Regions from separate parts of the Homo sapiens genome. Here region 2 is linked to region 1. Evidence: promoter capture Hi-C in 16 types of primary human blood cells and fetal thymus (Javierre and others, 2016). All regions are on one chromosome and are shown on one strand. The core of a region is centred on a gene start or on the middle of the fragment in contact, and the rest is flanking DNA. Distances in the headings are between cores, read along the strand shown. Region 1 holds the start of DYNLRB2 (dynein light chain roadblock-type 2). Region 2 overlaps WWOX (WW domain containing oxidoreductase).

The links. Contacts are between HindIII fragments. The CHiCAGO score rates a contact against its expected background, and 5 or more counts as called.
Region 2: a fragment that was not itself captured here is called in contact with the fragment with the promoter of DYNLRB2 in region 1 in 1 of 17 cell types (total B cells); the score reaches 6.9 in total B cells.

What each region holds. Positions count from the first base shown.
Region 1 is chr16:80,538,916-80,545,669 of GRCh38, forward strand. DYNLRB2 (dynein light chain roadblock-type 2) reads left to right here and starts at 2,078. Exons shown (of 4, transcript NM_130897.3): 1 at 2,078-2,164; 2 at 4,361-4,436. The coding sequence starts at 2,162. All of the region lies in intron 1 of DYNLRB2-AS1 (DYNLRB2 antisense RNA 1), which reads right to left. RefSeq lists an enhancer at 2,129-2,218. The HindIII fragment of the contact is 6,420 bases long and covers 1-3,344 here.
Region 2 is chr16:78,739,487-78,746,568 of GRCh38, forward strand. All of the region lies in intron 8 of WWOX (WW domain containing oxidoreductase), which reads left to right. Among named protein-coding and RNA genes, the nearest start is that of WWOX-AS2, 240 kb to the left of the region's middle. RefSeq lists an enhancer at 3,280-3,539. The HindIII fragment of the contact is 374 bases long and covers 5,411-5,784 here.

The DNA.
Region 1 (6,754 bases), core at 828-3,327:
CCTCCAAGGAATAATTAGAAGTGAAAAATTGATAAAGGGGAAATGGCTCAAGTTCTCCTCATTGATTTTCTGTGCACAGAGTCAAACTTGACTGTTGGTTGGAAGTCAGTTTGGCTACTTCTTATTTCTTTTTCAGCAGTTGGGTTCTCCCGTCAGTGCGTTTTATGCTAGAATCGTTCTTTGCTCTAATTACAGCTGTCAGCTATTGAATGAGCTTGACATCCTGACTCCAGAAACAAGGAAATTCACACTCCATGCATATGCAGTTGGTTCCTTCATTAAAGCTGATTGACATATCAGACATGGTGCACTGTCACTGATTTTTGTAAGAAAAACAAACGGCTACACAATCAAGTGGAATCTCCTTGATCAGAAACACCCAGAGAACCCAAGAATCACTCTTCATTCAACTCAGCCAGTATTTCTGTAAAGACCTATTATTTGTATTACTGCAAAATGGTAGCTATAGTCAATCAGGTAAGAGCCAGATCTGTACACACATGCATGCATACACACACAAGCACACAAATGCACACGCACACGCACACACCAGACTCAGACTCCTTCCCCACAGCTATAGCAGTCCTTTCCAAAGCAACTTTGTTGGAGTACCAGGTGTTGAGAGTCAAGCGGGATTCTTTGGCTAGTAATAGTGAACTGGCTGAGATATACAGATTTCTTGGAGGGAAAAAAAGGAGAGAACTACAGTGATCAGAATCACCCACACCTCAACAAAAATTAGAGCAGAACTACAGTTTCTCAGAGTATTTCTGTAGTTAATATAATAAAATGACAGATGTGGAGTTGAAATGGATCATCGAGTCCAAGCCTGCCAATGAGTTCAAAACTGTCCCAGAGCACCCCTAACATGGACCATTCAGAATCCAGTTGACATTCCTAGCACGATGTATGCCTTGTTCAGTGTGAGACTACTTTCTGGAAATGGATGCACAAACAGAATCGGTATTACAGGAAGTTGTTATGGCATGATCCCTATGAAGATGCATTCCCAACTTACAGCTTGTATTTTGTAATCAATATTTGTCCTCCTCTAACCTCAGGAAGTCATAACACGACTCCAGCCATAAAATTTTCCTGCTGTGCTTCGTCGTACAATAGTGGCTCTTTTCCTCCTAGGCTATAAGGATATTATCAATGTCCCTCAAAAGGTCAAGTGACTTCTGATCATTCCTAACTGATCTTTAACGTGTTTCCTCCAACAGTTCCTTAAACACCCAATGGAATGCTCTTCTATGGCAACGTATAGAACCTCCGGAACTACCATTTGCAATTTTTTAGTAACTCAGAACTGTTGATTTTTAAAATGGCAAAAATACAGATCCTAATGGATACTGACAACTAACAGAAATACTGACAAGTAGCAACTCTTCAATGGAGTTGAGAACAGGAAGAGGGTGCTATAACTAGGTGAGAACATAAAATGTGCAACTGTGCTTACTCTACTGATCTTAGAGTAGACAGATAGAAAGTAATTTTTTTAAGTACATAAGGTTGTACTATTTGATGCTCTGATATATTTTTCTTCAATATAAAAACTACTGGGAGGCGAGCGAACAGTATCTGCCCTGAACAGGGCAGTACTAATGGACGGTCACAGGCAGCTAAGACTATCACCAAACCCCTAGAGCAGCCCAACCCCGAAGTCAGATGGTCCTGTCCCCTCCTTACTTGCTCCAGGGCAAGTATCACACGTGGACATTACTGCTTCCGGTACTGTTTCGTGCATTTTGTTTGGTGCATTTTGTCCGTCTCCCTGGCACCTGGTGGGTGGTGAATCAGCAGTTTTTGAACGAATAAGTGGTTATCACATTAATTCGTGCCTCAATGAATGAATGAATGGACAAACACAGGCCGGGAGCCTGACCCACTTCCCTCTTCCCTCCCGGGACCCACTGCTCCAGGATTGGGCGAACCTCAGGTGAGCGCCTGCTCCCCTCTTCCGCGAACCTTCGCCTACGGCGGCCGGGAGGCATCAGGAGCGCGGTCAGGGCGAAAAAGCCGACTCGCGAGCGCGCAGGCGCAGCCCTGACGCTTCCGTGGGGCCACTTCCTTTTTTGTCTCCTAGCAACGGCGGGTAGCGTTGTTGACATCCCGGGAGGCTGTGCCGCCGGCCTGAGCCCAGAGTTTCGCGGCCTCCGCGATGGTAAATCTGGGGTCTCCGTCCACGCCCCGCCGTTCCAAGCACGCCGACCGTCAAGGACCTTCGCACCCAGCTTCTGGGGCCCACCCAGGCACGGGCGGTCCAGGGGCCGCGGCGGAGGCTGGTGGCTCCAGGATCTTCCTGGAGGGGCGAGAGGGAGACCTTGGAAAGGGGCAAGAAGATGTCTAGATGACTGGAAGCTGTTTTGGGAATTGATTTCGCGGGGATGGTACATAAGGAGGGGTGATGTTGAGAAAGGGAAGAGAGAGATTCAGAGGATGAAGAATGCTCAGGGGAGTGAGAAATCCGGGGAGCCAGGAAAGTTTCCAAAGAGGGGGCGGGAGGCCGAGATGGAGAGGAAAAAAAATCAGACCCTTAGAGAGAAGGAAGAGGTGGGACAGGGAAAGCAAGGGAATGGAAGGGTGAGAAGGGAAGATACTGAGAAAGAAGAAAGGGAAATAAAGAAAAAGGAAAGAAGTGATGGGAGACCCGCCCCCCTCCCCCCCAGAAAAAGAGGTAAGAAAAAAAAAAGTAGAGACTGTGGAAAGCAAAGGGCGTTAAGAGAAGAATGAAACGGGGATTGGAGATGGGGATTAAGAAATTATACTAGGAGCACTTACAAATCATGAGAAGAGAAACAACTGGGTGGAGAAATGGAAAGGCCAGGGAAAGAAAAGAAAGGAGTTTGGGAGATAAGTAAAGGGAGAAAGATAAATAAGGACACAGTGGCTGTAAGAAGCTGTGGACATCGTCTTAAAGATTGCCCAAAATGCAGTGAATTATTGATCCCCTGTTCAACGCTTACGGTTTAGTGTAGTGTTTCTCAAAGTCAGATGCAAACATTCGTTGCTACATAAGATGGCCGAGAAATGCTAAATAAGAGTGAATCACATCGTGAGAAAGTTATTCCTCTTCCATTTTGTTCAACCTTCAGACTACATACAGGAGAAAATTTCTGTTGCTATTAGGTCCTTAATACCACTGTCATTTGGAAATTTCCATTTTTTCATCCGAAGAGCAGGCCTCAGGCTCAGAGCTTTCATTGCAGTAGAATTTAATGATAGGCTCTCTCTTCATTTTGTTCATTTTGTTTGTTTTACAGTTATTTCTATTTATGAGGAATAACGTCAGGTTTCCATTTGTGGTAGTGACATACGATTTCCTCTTAAAATGCATTTATTTAAGCTTTTAGCAGTGAGATAATTTAAAGAACACCTAGATAAATAGTATACATGGCATTCATAATGGCAAGAATCATGAATCTAGTACACAAATGCCTAAAGTCAAGAAAACCTTGGCTCTGATGCTGAAATAGAGAAAATAAGTGCTCCTGCCCATACCAAGTACAAAGGAAAACTATCTTGAAGTAACAAAATGTTCACCTGTGCAATACTGAGGAAAAAAGAATATAGCAAACCCTCATCAAGAGAATTTGCAGAATTCAAAATATCCAGTGATTGCTCAGTCATGAAAAATTTGCAGGTTTGGAAAAGATCGTTCTTGTCTTTGAGTTTTCTACAGGGGAAGAAAACATACAATACACTCTACACATAAGATTCCGAATGAGTTTAAAACACAATAATAGATTCCAGAATAATCACTCATAGTTGAACATTCAGCTTGCACTGAGACGCAAGCTATAGTTATCAAGAAAATCCTAGAATCCTGGAATACTTTGTTTTTATAGACTATCCTTTAAATTTAATCATCCGAACTGATTAGGTCACATTAATGAAAATAAGATTTCTCAATAAGGACTACTTTTAGACAGAGGGAGGCCATGATATAGCTCTATAAATATTTAAAGCACTGTAATGTAGAAAAGGAATTTTCATTTGAATACAGCAGGGTCAATGAATGAAAGATAATCTGGGACAAATTTCCATGCAATGTAAAGAATACTTTTCTAGTAAATGGAAACAGATAAAAATGGAGTGAACTCCTGTGAGGCAGTAAGCTCTCTGTCTCTACAAGGGTTCAAGCCAAGAGATTCATCAGGATTGTATCCAGGAGGTCTTACGTAGGTATTTATGTGGGACTTGACAATTTCTAAGCTGTCTTTTAAAAATCTGAGATTATCACACCTGGCACCTTAGGTTAAGGAGATAGGAGAGTAGGTATCTTGCTAAACATTATTCTCCTTAGGGTTGAAGTTACCACAGGGCCCTTTTGGTTAATTATCTTCCTGGTCTCTTTCAGGCAGAGGTGGAGGAAACCTTAAAGAGGATCCAGAGTCATAAAGGGGTTATTGGAACTATGGTTGTAAATGCAGAAGGTAAATATATCACAGGCTGTCTTCTTGACACACAGAAGCCAACCAGGAACCTGTTTGCCGTGTTAGTCCTTAAGACAAACATCTTCGAATTTGACATCAAAAATATATTTATATATTTTAGCTCTGGCATTCACTTACCAAACATCTATTGAGTATCTGTTATATGCCAAACACTCTGCTAAGATCTGGGGGCATAAATATGAATAAGACATGTCTAAAAATCTCTATATACTCCTAAGAAGCACTATACATTGTTTACTTTTTAAAGCTTTGGTAATTCTCTTCCAACATTTCAGAAGTGCCAATAAAACTATCATATAGAAGATAGGGAGAATATCATTGTTGGTGGGTTGTTTGCGTTTCAACATTATGAACCATACAGAATTTCAGTGTTTATTTTAAATGGAACTTGTTCCTTGAACATATTTTATTTAAAAATCTTTGAGAATTAACGATATCATTTATAATATAGTCTTTGTGGATATAGCATAAGAAGGCCCTACATATTTCCAACTATGAAATCTGTAGACTTACCAGAAACTTGCTCTTGCTGCACGATCCTTGTTAAGAATCCACATCACATTTACTTTGGCACATTGCTCCACGCTCAGCTATGGTGGCAACCTCTTAAGAGTTCATGCTAGTTTCATTGCTAATTCAGACATTTGTAAGGGCAAGGAGTGCCAGAAATTCCAGAGCATTAGTTAAAATAAGAGTAGCTACTTTACATAATTTGTGGTGCAACCATGGAATTGGCCTATTACCAACTCAGTGCCTTGGAAAAATCCATCAGTAAATATTTATTAAGCAACTACCAACTGAAAGTCTGCTTAAATTCTGAACTACAACTCCTTACCACTAAGAATGGACAATAACCTATTTTACTGGGGGTTTTCATTGTTAAATGAGACAATAATTGTTGAGTGCTTGGCATAATACCCAATACTTGATAGTAATTAAATAGTTATGAGAATGTGAGGATTTTTAATTCATTTATACAGTTAAAACATTTGTTTTATAACCAGCAACTCAAGGCCAAATGAGTGAGAGAGATAATAGAACATAATAAATTTTCGAGCTTGAATAATCAGGGGGAAGAGAGGATTTAAGATCTGCCTTCCAGGTAAGTCACAAACTATGCGTAATATTTCCAGGAAGCATTCCAGCCCTAGTACGTGGATCTGGTTGCATTGATTTTATTTCCAGGTATTTGCATACACTCTGCCACAGCTCCGAAGATGAGCCGTCCATGTGATTTCATAGAGATGGTGTGTTAGTTTCCTTTGGCTACAGTAACAAACTACAACATGCCTGTTAACTTAAAACAACAGAAACGTATTCTCTTCCAGTTCTGGAGGTTAGAAGTTGAAATCAAGATGTCCGAAGGCTCATGCTGTCTCTGAAGACTCTGTGGGAGGACCATTCCTTACCTCTTCCTAGCTTCTGGTAGTTGTCAATCTTTAGTGTTCCTTGGCCTATAGACACATCACTCCGATCTCTGCCGCCATCATCACGTAGCATTCTCATCTTTGTGTCTGTCTGTCTGTTTCATTATAAGAACCCCAGTTATTGGATTAGGGCCTACCCGAATCCAATGTGACCTCATCTTAACTAATTATATGTGCAAAGACCCGTTTCCAAATAAGGCCACCTTCTGAGGTTTATATTGGACTTGAATTTGGGGATTTGGGGGGTCTAGGGGGACACTCTTCAACCCTGTACAGGTGCATTCACCTGTGACAGCCAGAACCACTCATCTAATGTGATTCTTTGGAAGATCTTGGTCTAAAGTAGGTAATCCTGGTGATATGCCTCAAAGGTCTGAAAAATATTCACCCCCTTTGATCTATAATTTTACTCCTAGCAATTTATCCTAAAGAGTGATGAAGAAAATATCTAGGTATGAGGATACTCACTGAGGCATCATATATAATAGCAATAAATAAATAAACAGAAAAAATAAGTAAATAAATGTATCCTAACAGTAGGGGAATTTTTAAAGTAACTAATTTTACTTGATGAACATTACTCTATTTAAAAGGTTGAAGACTGTTTAGTGTCTTGGGAAACTACTCACAGTATTAGATGAAAAAAGCAGAGAACAAAGCGGTCACCGGCATGTTCTAATCCTATTTATGGCCAGGTGCACACATACACTTCAAATAAATAGGAAAGGAAGGGTAGGGATATGTTACAGTGATCACCCTGGGTAGTGAGATGAAAAGTGATTTTCACTTTATTTTCCTGAGGTTCCTCAATTAACACTTCTCTTATCCGAAGGCAACAAAATATTATTTTCAGTACCCATTAGCTTCTTT
Region 2 (7,082 bases), core at 4,348-6,847, 1.8 Mb before region 1:
GGTCGGTAAGAAGAGGGCTGGGCTGAGTGTAAAGAAATTCCTTGGCTGGGCATGGTGGCTCACGCCTGTAATCCAGCACTTTGGGAGGCTGAGGCAGATAAATCACCTGAGGTTAGGAGTTCAAGACCAGCCTGGCTAACACGGATAAACCTCGTCTCTACTGAAAACACAAAAATTAGCTTGGCTTCCTGGTGCATGCCTGTAATCCCAGCTACTGCAGAGGCTGAGGCAGGAGAATCGCTTGAACCCAGGAGGCGGAGGTTGCAGTGAGCCGAGATCGTACCATTGCACTCCAGCCTGGGCAACAGGGAGAGATTCCATCTCAAAAAACAAACAAACAAACAAACAAAAACCCCAGATATTCCTTATTATGGAAGAAGAAGCAGGAAATATGTTTTTGAATAATCTGGGTCAGAGAATTGTGCATTTATTATTGCTAGGATGCATATACACATTGAACTCAGTCAACTTACTCTCTCTAAATTATCTCACCGGTGGAGACATTGCCTCAGGAGTCGAGCCCTGTGGTGTGCCTCCTGCTGTCACCACATTTGACCACCTAACTGACCCCACTGTGGTCACCTTTGCCACCTGCCCTGCTTTGGTCCCTTCTCTGCATTCGCCCCATGCCATGTAGCACTGCTGAGTTTGAAAATAATTGCATCTCCTGAAAACTCCATTTCTTAGAGAGTGAGCTCCAGCACCATCAGCCTGAAGTTGAAGAAATGGGACTCAGGAAGGCTGGAGTCTTCAGGCGTTCTTACAATGCTGATGCGACTCAGACGGCTGCCTGCACTGTCCTCTGTGCTTCTAAGTGAAATTACCCGTCGGGGGGCTCCTGAGAGTTAAATCAAGCAGCCTCTCTTGAAGCACAGTAAATGCTGACGTGATTTGTGAAGATGGCTCTGCTAATAGGGTTGGCAGCGTCCTTTGGCTTGGACCTTTGGACCCCGGCTGGCTGCGGAAGGGAGGGAAGGCAGCCTTGGAAAACTGATTTCCGTTGCCCTCTGACCATGAGAAGATCCCTGTTTAGGAGCTAGAATTCAGAGTTCCACGTGTAGAGGGGGATTCCACAGTGTGTGGTGTGCAGAGAGCACTCGTCTTTCAGGCATGGGGCGCCGTTTCATTTCTCCTAGTGCTGGAAGGGGACTTGGTGAAATTGATTTGGCAAAAAGGTTAATGTGTTGTTATGGCTGCCAGTTGGCCGATTGAAGCGCTAGTAATTGGGGCAAGGGAAGCATTCAATTTGACACACCAAATGCAGGTCCACCCTGGTGGATATCTTGGTTGCAGCACTCTGTGTGTGTACGTGTGTGCATGAGCGTGTCTTAGAGATGCTTTTGCTCCTCTTATAACTCCTATGATAAAAAGAGTTGCCATTATCATCCTTTGTCTACTCACCAGCCCCCACCAGAAACCCTCACAGAAAAAATAAGAGTTTATTTTTTCACTATGTCACATTGTTGGAGAACTGTGCAAATACAAGCCCTTCTCTTACAGGCCATGGGTCTCCTAAGTGGGATACACCACGATGATCCACTGGGGCAGTGGCCAGCAAAGTCCCTGTCCAGCCAGCCACTCGTTTTTATCAATAAATTTTTACTGAAACACAGTCATGCCTGTTAGGTTAGGAACTGCCTAGCGCCACTTCACACTGCAGTAGGAGAGTGAGTAGTTGTGACAGAGACCATTTATCCCACAAAGCCTAGAATCTTTATTATAATCCTGTAACAGAAAGCATTTACTGACTCCTTAGCATTGCCATGTTTAGCAAATAAAATTGCAGGATGCTGGTCAGGCGCGGTGGCTCACGCCTGTAATCCCAGCATTTTGGGAGGCCAAGGTGGGCAGATTACTTGAGGTCAGGAGATCGAGATCAGCCGGGCCAACCTGGTGAGATCCCATCTCTACTAATAATACAAAAAATAGCTGGCGTGGTGGCGCATGTCTGTAATTACAGTTACTCGGGAGGCTGAGGCAGGAGAATCACTTGAACCTGGGAGGCAGAGGTTGAAGTGACCCAAGATCACCACTGCACCCCAGCCTGGGCGACAGAGTGAGACTGTGTCTCAAAAACAAAATATCTGGCTGGGCACAGTGGCTCATGCCTGTAATCCCAGCACTTTGGGAGGCTGAGGTGGGTGGATCACTTGAGGTCAGGAGTTCAAGACCAGGCTGGCCAACATGGCAAAACCCTGTCTATACTAAAAATACAGAAATCAGTGGGGCATGGGGCGGGTGCTCTGTAGTCTCAGCTACTCAGGAGGCTGAGGCAGGAGAATTGCTTGAATCCAGGAGACGGAGGTTGCAGTGAGTTGAGACTGTGCCACTACACTCCAGCCTGGGCGGCAGAGTGAGACGCTGTCTCAAATAAATACATACATACAACATAAAGTAAGATGTTAAAGTAAATTTTAATTTTAGATAAACAATGGATAATTTTTTAGCAAAAGGATGTTCCACATTTAACTGGACATTATCTCTGTCTCTCTCCCTCCTTACCTGCCTCCTATCCTCTCTTCCCACCCCCTACGATGTCTATGTATAGTTTCAACCTGGCAACCCTGTGACCTCAGCACTAGGATATGGATAGAAAACATAGTAGCCCCTATTTACCTTTATCTTTTATCTCAACCCATTTAAATGTCTTTTCCTTGCAATGTTTTGTAATATTACATGTAGATTGTACATCGTTTGTCGATAAATCAGTGTACAAATACTAGGGGTGAGTGTGCTCAAAACTTATTTTTACTGATAATAGTCCATGATCAAGGCAGTTTGGAGACCACTCAGGACAGGGAAAACGCAGACTCATGTGACCCATCAGGGCTTCAGGGTGTCCTCTGGTGAAGGGCAGCAGCAGGACAGAGCCCCACTTCTAGCTCTGGCTCAGGTTAAGTGTTTCAGCGCCCTGGCTTCTGTGTCTTCATGTGCAAATGGAGATAATAGTCAGCACCTATGCAGGTTACTGTGAAAACAGGTTGGAAGTATTTATCTACAGCGTGGACCAGAGCCTCTGGTATGTACTAGGTGCCCTAGAAATGTTCTTTCCTCTGACTCAAATGACAAATCAGTTTCTAGGGAAAGGAACGCACAGCGATCCCCAGCGCATCACGAGAAATCTCTCTCCAGCTTTGCCCTGGCTGCGCTGGTGACTCACTCGGGGCTAAAACTGTTTATGTCTGCGGAGTCAGAGCGTTCTGCCCTGCGGTTTCAGTTCACATGGGGTTGGGCGACACAGTTTTGTTTTCACTTTGGTTTATCGTGTGAGTTTCCATCCATCAACTCTTTTGTATCTGATGTTCTTGGGAAACTTTGCGGGAATTCACTTGAAATTGTCCAGTGAACAGCCATTGCGAGTCTCATGGTCAGAGCCGGGGGCTTCCCAGTGTAGGGTCTGGTCAAGGAAAGGGCCACTTCCTGGGCCTCCCAAAAAGAGGAAGGAGAAGGCCCTGGCTTGTGGAAGAGTAAGAGGGGCCTCGTTAATGTCTCCCAAGCACAGTACCCCAACTCCCCACATACAGTCCCAACCCTTACTGCAGCCGGGAGGTTAGGTGTCTGCCGTGCTCATGAACAGGAAGTGAACCCGATCAGCCCCCGAAGGAAACATCCGTCTCTCTCCTTGGAGGAGACACTTGAGTGTCTTTCTCTGTGTGCTGCAGCCGTTATTGATATCAGTTCCCAGGCAAGGTTCATGCTGGCAGAGGAGGCCACTCTTTCTGCACTGGAGAGCAAAAGCCATCTTATCTCTCTGAGTGCAAGGTGACAGTGAGGAGATTGGCCCTGTGTATCCCTCAGAGACCAGTATTCCCTCATTTGCCAATCTAGAAAGAAGACTGTGTTTGCTGTCATTTGTTTCTTAACTCATTGATTCTCAAACAGAATCTTCCCAGGGATCTGCTTCATGCTGTATTTTGTACTGTGTCCTGAGATGATGAGGATTCGGTGTCTACCCTCAAGAAGCATCATTTAGAGAAGAAATTAGAAAAGTAAGTGAGGCAGGAGAACAGGATCTGGAGGCAGGGAATCTAAGGCTGATTCACGTTGACTTTGTATAATTAAATCAAAAGGAAAACACCAACTTTCCACAACTAAGTTATAAAAGGACCAGAGGCTACTCCCTCTGCAACCCCTCCCCACTTTTCTGAGTTGCAGATGGAAAATTGAAAGTACCCCTGATTGGTTGCTTTCCACGACCATTCAGCCGTTTGCATAGGAGCTGTAACTTTGTAACTTCGCTTCACCCTCTGATTGGTTGCTTTTCACAACCTATCAGACATTTGCATAGGAGTGTAACTTCTTTCCACAACCAATCTGACTGATTGTGGGCCATTACTTCATTTCCATGAGGTGTACACCAAGTGGCCAATGGGAGACCTCTATAGGGTATTTAAACCCCAGAAAATTCTTTAACCAGGCTCTTGAGCCTCTATGCTTGGGCTGCTCCCACCGTTTGGAGTGTACTTTCCTTTTCAGTAAATCTCTACTTTTGTTGTTTCATTCTTTCCTTGCTTTGTTTATGCGTTTTGTCCAATTCTTTATTCAAAACGCCAAGAACCTGGACGCCCTCCTCCAGTAACATAATGAATGTCTGGATGTGGTATGAAGAGTATTGGGGTACACCACAGCAGCGTGTGCTCTGAGAACACAGTAAACAGGCATTTGATACAGATCAGAAGGTCCGTAAAGGTGGTATTTGAACTAAGTTTTGAGAGCTGGGTAAGAGTTTGTGAAAAGACAGGGCTTAAGGAAGGATATAGTAAGCTGAAGGCACAGGACTTTAGAAACACATAGGCTATAACTGCAAGGTGTGTCTCAGAAGGTACATGTGACGTTTCATTTTTATTTGTTTGCTTTTTTATAGTGACTGCATGATCATTATATGCAGAAGACGCTTGAAGGGGCCAGATTAGGAAGGGCCCATGGTCCACACTGCTTTTTTTTTTTTTTTTTTTTTTTTTTTGAAACGGAGTATCTGTCTCTCACCCAGGCTGGAGTGCAGTGGCACAGTCTTGGCTCATTGCAACATCTGCCTCCTGGGTTCAAGCAATTTTCTTGCCTCAGCCTCCCGAGTAGCTGGGATTACAGGCACCTGCCACCACACCTGGCTAATTTTTGTATTTTTAGTAGAGATGAGGTTTCACCATGTTGGCCAGGCTAGTCTTGAATTCTTGACCTTAAGTGATCCACCTGCCTCGGCCTCCCAAAGTGCTGGGATTACAGGCGTGAGCCACTGTGTATTTCTATTACCAGCCTGCACTGCATTTCTATTACCCGAAAACAGTGTGGAAAATATTAATTACAAGGGAGATTAAAAAGTAAAACTGGTTGGTTGGCCTGAAGACCCACATGGTGACTTCACTAAAGTCATTGGGTAAGCAAAGAAGAGCAACACTCTAGTTTTCCTCCAAGCTTCAACGTTTTCTGTTTCCTCCTATGTCAGGTCTTAATTTCCCTACCTGATTCAGGCTGCGCTAAGCTGACTTCATCATGACTCCTGGCTTCCCCAGTCCCTGCTTCCCAGCACATACCATTTATTCAGTGTTGGCCAGTGACGCCTGCCACTGCATTTTATTGATGAAGAAATGGAGATCTCAAGAGGTAAAAAAAACTGACTATAGGAGCCAAGACTAGTTTAGAGTGGAGTTTGAATATGAACATGCCTCTGTCTGTGAAAGCCAGTGTCCCTTCAGCCAGGATCTTTCCTGGAAGAACTCAGTATTAAGGCACTTGATTAGTTCTTCCTGTTGGTGGACTGATTGATTACATTTGAATCTTTCAGCAAGCTTTTGGCTGAGCTGGGCATCTTCCCCGCCTTCCTCCACCTCTGCCTTCAAAAGCCTGAATTTCCAAGGCTTTCTGCCATGAGTACTTAGCTTTGAAAAACATGAGCATATTTTTCATTCTTCTTGCCGGCCTCTCCCTGTGTCATGCCTGTTATTCTTTTCTCCCTCAACATTGACCTAGGTCAGAAGGACCCTATTTTAATGTTTAGCGTTTGGGGGTCACTCCATAGAGAGGGGTTTGTGGAAATCCTTTTTTTTTTTTTTTTTTTTTTTGCTTCTTTCTGTGGATCTGTTTGGAAATGTAACATTTTAAAGCCCTTCTTGGCTGGAGGATTTTTTATGGTAAACATAAAACGTTCATTGAAACATTAAACATTTTACAGCTGTTTTTCAGCACATAAATTTTCATAGACATCCACCCCCTCACTGCCACACCCCCTCATAGATTTCTTCTTTTCCTCCTCCTTCTCCTCCTCCCTCTTCCTCCTCTTTTTCCCCCCCCTTCAAATAGTTCCAAGACCAGAGTTGAGGGTGGGTGGGTAGAGGGCTAGTTTACAGATAAAATGGTTGGTGTAGATCATCTAGTTTGGAAAAAGCACATTGTATTTTAATACTAGGAACGTGTGCATGCCAGAAACCTGCCAAGGAAAACACTCCCGCTGCTCCTTCCAGCCCTGACTCCAGCTGCTATGAACTGGAACCCTGCACCACGTCTCAGAAGGCTACTGGGAAGGGCCATAATCTGTATCCATCCACAAGGAGAGGTGGAGGGGGGCTACTCTAAGAAGCCAAAATGCTCAGGAAAGCCAGAGCTAAGATGGTGCAAACCAGCATGTGATTTGTCCAAGGACATCGTTTTGATATGATGAACCATGGGTGGTTTGGGCATTTGTCAAAGCAGGGTCAGCAGAAAGCTGACGTAGTTGGGTCTAAAGTACAACAGGACTGAGCATGGTGGCTCACACCTGTAATTCTAGTGCATTGGGAGGCCAAGGCAGGAGGATTGCTTGAGGCCAGGTGTTCAAGACCAGCCTTGGCAATATAGCAAGACATTGCCTGTACAAAAAATTTAAAAATTAGCTGGGAATGATGGTGCATGCCTGTAGTCTCAGCTACTTGGGAGGCTGAGGCAGGAGGATCAACTGAGCCCAGGAGTTTAAGGCTGCAGTGAGCCATGATCATGCCACTACACTCCAGTACACTCCAGGACTTTAGGCCTGCTAAAGTGCATTGTAGTAATACTAGATATCAGCACCCTTGCCATGGCCTCATGAGCAGTGAAATGAACTTTCTTGC